Linked DNA regions of Homo sapiens: region 1 is linked to region 2. Evidence: promoter capture Hi-C in human tissues and cell types (Jung and others, 2019). All regions are on one chromosome and are shown on one strand. The core of a region is centred on a gene start or on the middle of the fragment in contact, and the rest is flanking DNA. Distances in the headings are between cores, read along the strand shown.

The links. The method cuts DNA at HindIII sites, captures the fragments that hold promoters and counts their contacts. A contact is called where the count stands out against the background at its distance.
Region 1: a fragment that was not itself captured here is called in contact with the fragment with the promoter of STRA6 in region 2 in 1 of the 25 tissues and cell types used here (dorsolateral prefrontal cortex).

Annotation. Positions count from the first base shown.
Region 1 is chr15:74,257,462-74,261,524 of GRCh38, reverse strand. The region is part of intron 2 of CCDC33 (coiled-coil domain containing 33); the gene reads right to left. Among named protein-coding and RNA genes, the nearest start is that of CCDC33, 23 kb to the right of the region's middle. The HindIII fragment of the contact is 5,844 bases long and covers 1-4,063 here.
Region 2 is chr15:74,201,511-74,205,598 of GRCh38, reverse strand. STRA6 (signaling receptor and transporter of retinol STRA6) reads left to right here and starts at 2,812. Exons shown (of 19, transcript NM_022369.4): 1 at 2,812-2,886; 2 at 3,317-3,444. The coding sequence starts at 3,332. It also overlaps a transcript of CCDC33 not described here. RefSeq lists enhancers at 1-421, 1,907-2,540, 2,482-2,651. The HindIII fragment of the contact is 11,640 bases long and covers 1-4,088 here.

The DNA.
Region 1 (4,063 bases), core at 924-3,423, 57 kb before region 2:
CGCACTAATGGTACCCCAGGATGGGAACAAAGACGTCATCCCCACCAGCCCTTGTTTCACCCTCAAGGACCCCAAAGGGAGTGTGGGGCAGGCCAGTTGGCTCAGACCCCACCTTCTCTGTGCATTAGCAATACCAACATGGTTCTTCCCAGCCCAGCTTGTTCCTCTCCTCCAAGAAGCCCTCTGGAGTCCCCCGGCCCTCACTGTTCCCTCTGCCCTTTAGACTTAAGTGACGCTGTGACCTGGCTCCTTGCTCCCACTCATCACAGCCCTGCTCCTGTGGGTAACCATGCTTGCAGGAGCCCTTCTTCTGTGGGTGACCATGCTTGCAGGAGTTCCATCTCCAAGTTCCAGGGGTCAACTGAGGACTCCTGCTGTGCTTTGACTGAGGCAGTATGACACAGTGATTGTAAGAAGGACCCTGCAGCTGGGCATTTTGGGTTCCAAATCCCAGCTCTACCCCGTGCCAGCTGTGTGATGTTAGGCAAGGTACAGAACCTGTGGTGCCTTATTTTCTTCATCTATAAAACAGAGATGCTAACGGTGCCCAGCCTGCAGGGCGGTTGTGGGAAGGAAACGAATGAATATGTGTAGTGCCTGGCACATTGCTAAGTACCAAGAAAGTGTTAATAATTCTTAGTACCTTAAATTATTAAAATATAAATATGATTCCTGTTATTACCCCATAGCACCAGAGAGCTTAGCCTTATTGACCCTCCTGTGACCAGCCCCTTTGCCGTGGCGTGATTTTTCCCCATCATGCCCCCAGTTCTGGGTCTACAATTGGGAATGTCTGGCTGCTCGGGCCAAGGTGTGGAATCCTGGAAAGAGCACAGGCTTGGGAATGATTCAGAGCTGGGTTTGGAGCCCGCGTTTATCCTGGCGAGATCATCTCCCCTCTGCACCTACTAAGTTCCTCCTTTTTCAATAGTACCGCCCTGAGAGAGTGTTATAAGGACTGGAAAGAAAGCATGTTCAGCTCCTGGCATCCAGAAAGCCCCAGTTCATGTTATTCCCTCATTTGTGATACAAAACAGCTTGGGTGTTTTTGCAAGAGGACCTGCCTGAGGGCAGCATGAAGGGGAAGGAGCACTGAGTACAAGCTGGGGTGAGAAGGGGCATCTCCCAGAGAGCCGGAGTCCTTCTCAGATGAGCGTCCATCCAGACACACCCCTGCAGGCTCTGCAGAATGGACTCCTCACACCCGCAAAGTGGTGTGTGGGAGGCTGCCAGGCTAGAGAGGGAAGGCAGAAGCCTGGCAGGAACGTGGCGCTCAGCTTGCTCCCTCCACCCTCGGGTCCCTTTTTCCCTCCGGCTCTGTGACCATGCTTGACCAAGGGGTGCAATCTAAGTACCTCCCATGACGCTCTGTGCCTAGGCTCCCGCTCCTGACAGCTGCCCCAGCAAAGTCAGAGACCTCAGGCTCTCAGCAGCCTCCCTGTGCTACCCAGCCACCCGATCTGCTACTTATAGATATATAGTTAGTGCACAATAAGGCCTCACAGCCTCCCTCCTCAGGGACCTGCACAGAAACAGCAGAAAAGCAGAAGCGCCAAGGGTGTGTCAGGAAGAAGTCAGTCCTTCTGCACCCAGATGTCAACCCCAGAGCTGGACACAAAACTGCACCTGCATGGACACATTCCTGGGGGATTCCCAGGGATCTTCATGTGGCTCTGTGTGCACAGAGAAGACACAAATGAAGGTGTGAAGTCACAGGCAACATAGTGACAGGATTCAGATTGAACCCCATGCCAGCCTGTCTTCTACTGTCCTCGTATCCTCCCAACCCTCCTGGGAGGGTGGCAGGAGGAATTCCCAGGTGCAAAGAGGTGGGTAAAGGTGACGGGGCAAGGCAAGGGAGCAGGTGCTGACTTTCCTCCAGCAGAGAAAGAGTTAAGCAACTATTTTCCCCACCTCCCTGCCCCATCTAATATGAAGGTCATCAGGGCTAGGTGAGTGCAGATAAAGCAACTGGGTGGGAGGGGGAGGCCCCAGGGGAAGGGGGAGGCTTTTAGCAGGTGGAGGGAGGCTCTCGGGGTAATGGCTTTTCCTGGCACAGCTGACTCCTCCGGGTCTTGATGCTATTCTAGAATCTGGAGAGCAAGAAGGGCCTCTGATTCTTCACAGAATAGGAGCAGGGGATGAGCTCACTCCCTGCTCCCAGCCCCATTCTGCACCCCGCAGATGGGCACGTGGCTGAGTTCCAGGTCCCCAGGCTCTCTCGGGGCTCCCAATGCAGTCTTAGAACCCAGGGGACCTCACCAAGACCTGCTTCCCTAGGCCTCTCCACAGGCTGTCTGCAAGGAGAGACCCCCCTCCCTGTCCCCCCAAAGACCTGCCCTGTTGACTTGGACCCGTTGGCTCCAGGCATCCAGGGCCAGGAGGAGCTAGTGGGTGGTGCCTGCTGTCTCGGGGCCAGATTTAATCCAGCCACAGCATGGGCAGCCATGCCAGGATAGGACTGGAGTTGGGTTTAGAGTGCAGCAGCCCTGAGACCAAGCTGCAGGAAAACATAAACCTCCCTCAACCTGGCCTACCCTCCAGGCTGCTGGAAGGGTGTGTGTGTCTTTGACAAACTCCAGTCCCCAGCTAGGCATTCCTGGGGCCCCCACCCCAGCAGGGTGTAAGGGGGCCAGGCTCAAGCACAGCTGTGAGTGGGAGGGAACAAGGACTTTGCTTTCCTTCTGCAAGGTCATGACTAAGGGAAAATATGTCATCTGGTTCCCGGGGGCTGCAGCTGTGAGTGGAAGAAATGAGCATCGGAAAAGCATGGGATTTGATGGACAGAAAGCAAGAGTGCTCATGAGCCGCTTTCCCCCTCACTCCAGGAGACACACACACACATCCACACATACATACACACACATGCACACACATGCGCACAAATGCATGCACACACACATACATGCACACATGCACGTGCACAAAGGCTGCCCAGAGAGGTGTGAGTACCATACTGTACCCACTCTTGTTACCCAGTCCTCAGGCTGCCTCTGGGGTCTTCTATTCACACCTGAGCCCACCTCCCCCACCTGCCCTGCCTGTCCTGTTGGCCTCTGGCTCCCTCAAAGCCTCAAATCATGAACAATAGTCAAGACCTGGCCGCCTCCTGGGCAGAGCTTTAGAAGCTGGGGCACAGGCGGCCTGGTTTGTTTTGAGTGCCAATCCCAGGACAGCCACCAAGAGAGCAAAGGAAAGGGGAGGGCCCTGACTCAGATCTGCTGTGGCTGCTGGGGTCTTGGCTGGGCAGGCTTGTAAATCCTGAGAGACTAGAGTGATGTTCCCAGAAGCCCCTGGCACTGGGGAAGTCAGGCAGGCACTGGGAATAGTGGATAAGGAGCAGACCTTTAAGTGGATGGATGGTGGAATAGGAGGTATTGGGCACCTTTGACCTGGCCCATCACAACCCATTGCTGGCTCACCTGGGAAACTGAGAGGGAGGTGAGGGAACTGGCAGTCCTGCAGGCCAGCTGTCAAGGTGTAATGGTTGGGTCTCAATCTTTCCTGAGAAGGTAGGGCAATTCTCCTCAACCTGCTTCCTCCATGCCAACTTCTGAGCCAGGGAGGCCTGCCTCCCCCATCCTCCAGAAGTCCAAGAGGCTGCCAGACTCCCAGGCCATAGGCTAGGCCTGCCTCCACTCCTGGAAGCTCTGAAAAACCCAGTGACCTCTTCCCAATCCAGGAGCCCAGTCTTATGCAACAGGAGGTGTGGAGTTGGCTTCTGCAGAGACAGTCATCTGAATGGGGTGGCCAAAGTCTGGGTTCCTGTGTTTCTGACCCTAAACCTGGAGAAGGCAGGGCTTGAACAGATAGATTGGAGGATCTTTCCACTTAGAGGAGAGAAGGTGAGGCTTGAGGGGGGCTGTTTGGCTGATGCAGGTGCTGACTTCGGAGCATGGGTTGGGGGAGTCAGGAGAGGGAGGCTGTGGTTCTCCCCCGAGTCCCTCTCAAGGCCCCTTTTTGCCGTGGCCACAATCAGTGTCTTCTGAAGCCAGGCAGGCAGGAGGGAAGAGCCCCAGCCCTCACACCTCTGGCCTTAGCCAAGCTCCCCTGGGATTGCTGG
Region 2 (4,088 bases), core at 1,563-4,062:
TGAAATGTGACCCCAGTGTTGGAAGTGAGGCCTGGTGTGTGGTGTTTGGGTCATTGCGGGGTATCCCTCCTGAATGGCTTGGTGCCCTCCCTGTGGTAATGAGTGAGTTCTCGCTCTATCAGTTCATGTGAGAGCTGGCTATTTGTAAGTGCCTGGCATCTCTCCTGCTCCCTCTCTTGCCAAGTGTCCTGCCTGACCCCCCTTCACCTTCCATCACGATTGTGGGTTTCCTGAGGCCCTCCCCAGAAGCTGATGCTGGTGCCGTGCTGCTTCCTGCACAGCCTGCAGAACTGTGAGCCACATAAACCCCCTTTCCTTCTAAGTTACCCAGAGTCAGGTTTTCCTTCACAGCAATGCGAAACAGATGAACACAGTGCCCAACTGGTACCTCCCTCTCTCCCCTCTGGTATCAGCAACACACCACCTTCTCAGTGAGGCCTTCCCTGACCACCTTGTCTCAAACAGCCAACTCCCGTCTCTCTTCTCTTCCCCCACTTCACTTCCCCTCTGGTGTTGTCTCCCCTAAGCCCTACCATACATCAGGTTCCATTTGGTGCAGGCCTTGACTCATCTTGCTCGCTGCCAAACCAGCCTGGGGAAGGCAGAGTTAGGCTTCCTCCAAGGAAGAGGATGGTTTCTTTTCTTTCTTTCTTTCTTTTTTTTTGAGATGGAGTTTGCCTCTTTTGTCCAGGCTGGAGTGCAGTGGCACGATCTTGGCTCACTGCAACCTCTGCCCCCTGGGTTCAAGCGATTCTCCTGCCTCAGCCTCCCTAGTAGCTGGGATTACAGGTGTGCGCCACCACGTCCGGCTAATTTTTTGTATTTTTAGTAGAGATGGGATTTTGCCTTGTTGGCCAGGCTGGGTCTCTAACTCCTGACCTCAGGTGATCCACCTGCCTCGGCCTCCCAAAGTGCTAGGATTACAAGTGTAAGCCACCACACCTGGCCAAAGGGCATGGTTTCTGATAGGCAAGGATGTCTAACCCCTGACACTGCTGCCTTGTAGAGGGAGTGGGCTCCCTGTCTGGAACTGGACTCCAATGGTTGGAGGTGGATTTAAAATCAGATGGGAGTTGGCTGCTCCCTAAGGTAACAGTCTGAGACCCCTGAGCAGGGAAGGGCTTGCTGGCCTCTGGTGTGGGCACGGGGACTCTGGGAAGCCCAGCTGGTGAACCTCAGGGCACAGCAGCCGCCTGTATAGGACAGGCCCACAAATGAATACTGGCCGCCAGAACAAGCAATGGCTTTGCCAAGCTCAATTTCTGAAGTCCCTCTTACCCAAGGGCCAGGCGCTGAGCATCAGGGGAAGGCAGGAGGAGGGGTGGGAGGGATAGAGTCCCGCCCTCCGGGAGCTCACACTCGCGCCTGGAAGGCAAGTTTCCCGCATCCCTGGGATCAGAAGGGCCAGTGTGGGCTCCTCATTACATCAAATAAAGCTCGGGTTCAGCTCTGAGTCAGCAGATGCTGATATCTCTGTGGGATGGTGGAGAGCAACAGAGCCCTCTTCCTGCAAGAAGGGCCATTTGGGAAGAAGGGGGAGGAACTCAGGCTAGCAGGGTGCTCAGCCCCTAATCCTGCCCTGCAGGCTTGGGAATTTGAAAGAGAGCCTCCAGGATTTCAAGCCCTGTCTACTCTGAGACTTCACCCGTGCTGTTTCCTCTGTGGGGAACACACTTTCCCCCACCCCCATCCCCATCCTGAGCCTGCCACCCTCTGCTCAGCGGACTTTCCCCTGCCCTTCAGATCACCACGGAAAGGTTCTTTTCTTCAGGAATCTCCCCCCATCCCCAAATGCTCTTGGACTAAATTTGGTTTCCCATGGTACAGACCAGCTCAACCTGTGATTCCCTTTGTAACCCTCAGACTTTGGAGGGGATTTAGTTATCTGGCTGTGTCCCCGCTGAACTGTCATCTCTCCTGCCTCAGGGCTCAGAACAGTGCTGGCACATAGTGTGTGTTCAATAAATTTAAGTTAAAAGACTAAATGAATAATGTCTTCTTAAAAAAGCTGTTGAATGACTGCCTTAGCTGACAGGGTCCAAGCCGAAGCCCCTTGTAGGGTATTGGAAGGACAGAGACCCTCACAGTTTTAGGGGCCTAAACCTCCACCAGGGACAGTGGCCTGAGAACTGCTTTCTACCTTCTTCTGCCTCTCGCCCCTTCCTCCAGGCTGGGGCAGGGTCCTGCTCCTGGGGAGGGAGAATGCGGAGGAGCCCTCCTCCCTGGCCCAGACCTTCCCTTGCTCACCCTCAACCTCACTCCAGGAGGAGCAGGAGGCAGGCGGGGCTCCTCTTGCCTACCCGTGGGTCTGGTTTGTGTTTAAAGAGCTAATTTCCGCCTTGTGGGGGTGAGTTATCTCCTTGTGAAATCAACTTGTAGGAACAAAAAGGGTTTACCAATGAGACACATGTTGCCTCCTTCATGGAAACCCTAGGAGAAGAAACGGACAGATTCCCCTTCCCTGCCTCCGCCCCAGCCCAGCCCCAGCGGTCCGTCTCACTCGGTTGTTGCTGTAATGCTGGTCTCCTGTCTGTGTGCGGCACTGCAGATGTGGCGGGCAGGGGCTTGGGAGCTCTGGGGCAGGCGCTGAAGGCAGGTATGTGTGTGAAGTCAGGTGCGGGGGTGGGGGTGGCTCCTGGCCACACCCTTGCAGGGCTCAGGCCGCCAATGGTGCTGGGGCCTCCTCCCCCAGGAGGGGGGCTTTGTCAAGGATTATGGTGTATTTCCATCACCGAGGCCCAAAGGGGCCAGAAAGGGGCAGGCTGAGGCTGGGGGAGGGGCTCAAGGGAGCCCAGCTGGGAGGGCCCAGGCAGGCAGTGCGGAGCTGGCCGTGGGCTGCCTACCCTTTCATCTCTGCAACTCCTTCCTCCCTGGGCCTCCCTTCTGGTGTGTCTGTGGGTCTGTCTAGGTGGGCTTGGGAAAGGGGAAGGAAGGGGCGTCTCTTTAGGCAGCTCAGACTGGACAAGCCTTCTTTGAAAATGGTCCTTTGAACACACGCCTGCTGGTGGTTGGTCAGACAGATGCGCCAGCGGGAGCCCCGGGGCCCCAAGGGGACAGCTATCTCTGCAGGACCAGTGCGATGGGCGGGAAGGGAGGAGGGGACACGAGAGGCCCTGTCCTCTTCCCGTGCCAGCTTGCTCAGGCCCTCAGTCCCAGACGGGCTTTTCCCAGAGAGCTAAAAGTAAGAAAGTAACCTTCAGGATTAAAGAGAAATGTTTCTTTGTTTGGGTTTTCCGTCTTTCTTTCTTTTTTTTTCTCTTTTAAGCCTCTTTTCACATCTGTAGTGGCTTTTTTTTTCTCTCGCCTGGGGTCAAAGGAGAAGGGCCAGAGAATGTCGTCCCAGCCAGCAGGGAACCAGACCTCCCCCGGGGCCACAGAGGACTACTCCTATGGCAGCTGGTACATCGATGAGCCCCAGGGGGGCGAGGAGCTCCAGCCAGAGGGGTAAGTGTGGAACCACCCCACCTCACTCTGTCAGCCATCAGAATGGGGTGATGGCAGAGGTTGCAACTGGCCAGGGAGCAGCTCCTGGGCAGGGGCTGCTAGGTCTGGCTCTGCCACTCATTTGCTGTGTGACCTTGGGCAAGTCACAGCCTCTCTGGGGTTCATTCAGTCTCTGCCTCTGTTACATGAGAACAACATCCCTCACCCTGCTGTTAAGACACCTAAGGCTGGTCACCTTAGGTATGATGTGTGACGTGTTAAAAATACAGATGATTCAGATCTGCAGGGATGGCTCCCTGGGTGATTCTGGCCCATAGCCAGGATGGAGAAGCTGCTGAGAGCAGTTGAGGCAAGCAGACCTCCCTTCAAGGGGTTATTGGTCTCTGTGGTGAGCATTTGGGTGTGGTGTTTCCAAGTGTCAAGTTCTCTGGGCAGGCTGGGGGATTCGGGGAAGGCAGAGAACCAAAGGGAGAAAGCCTGGTGAGAAGTCACTGAGGAAACAAGCACCCTTGTTGTCTTTGGATGGTCTCAGAGGATGAGGAGAGCCTATTCCCTTTAGCAGAAGTGCTCAGGCCAGCCCAGGTGAGGGTGGGAGCAGGAAGGCAGCCCGCCCCAGGGTGGCCTGAGAACCCAGCCACAGCTGC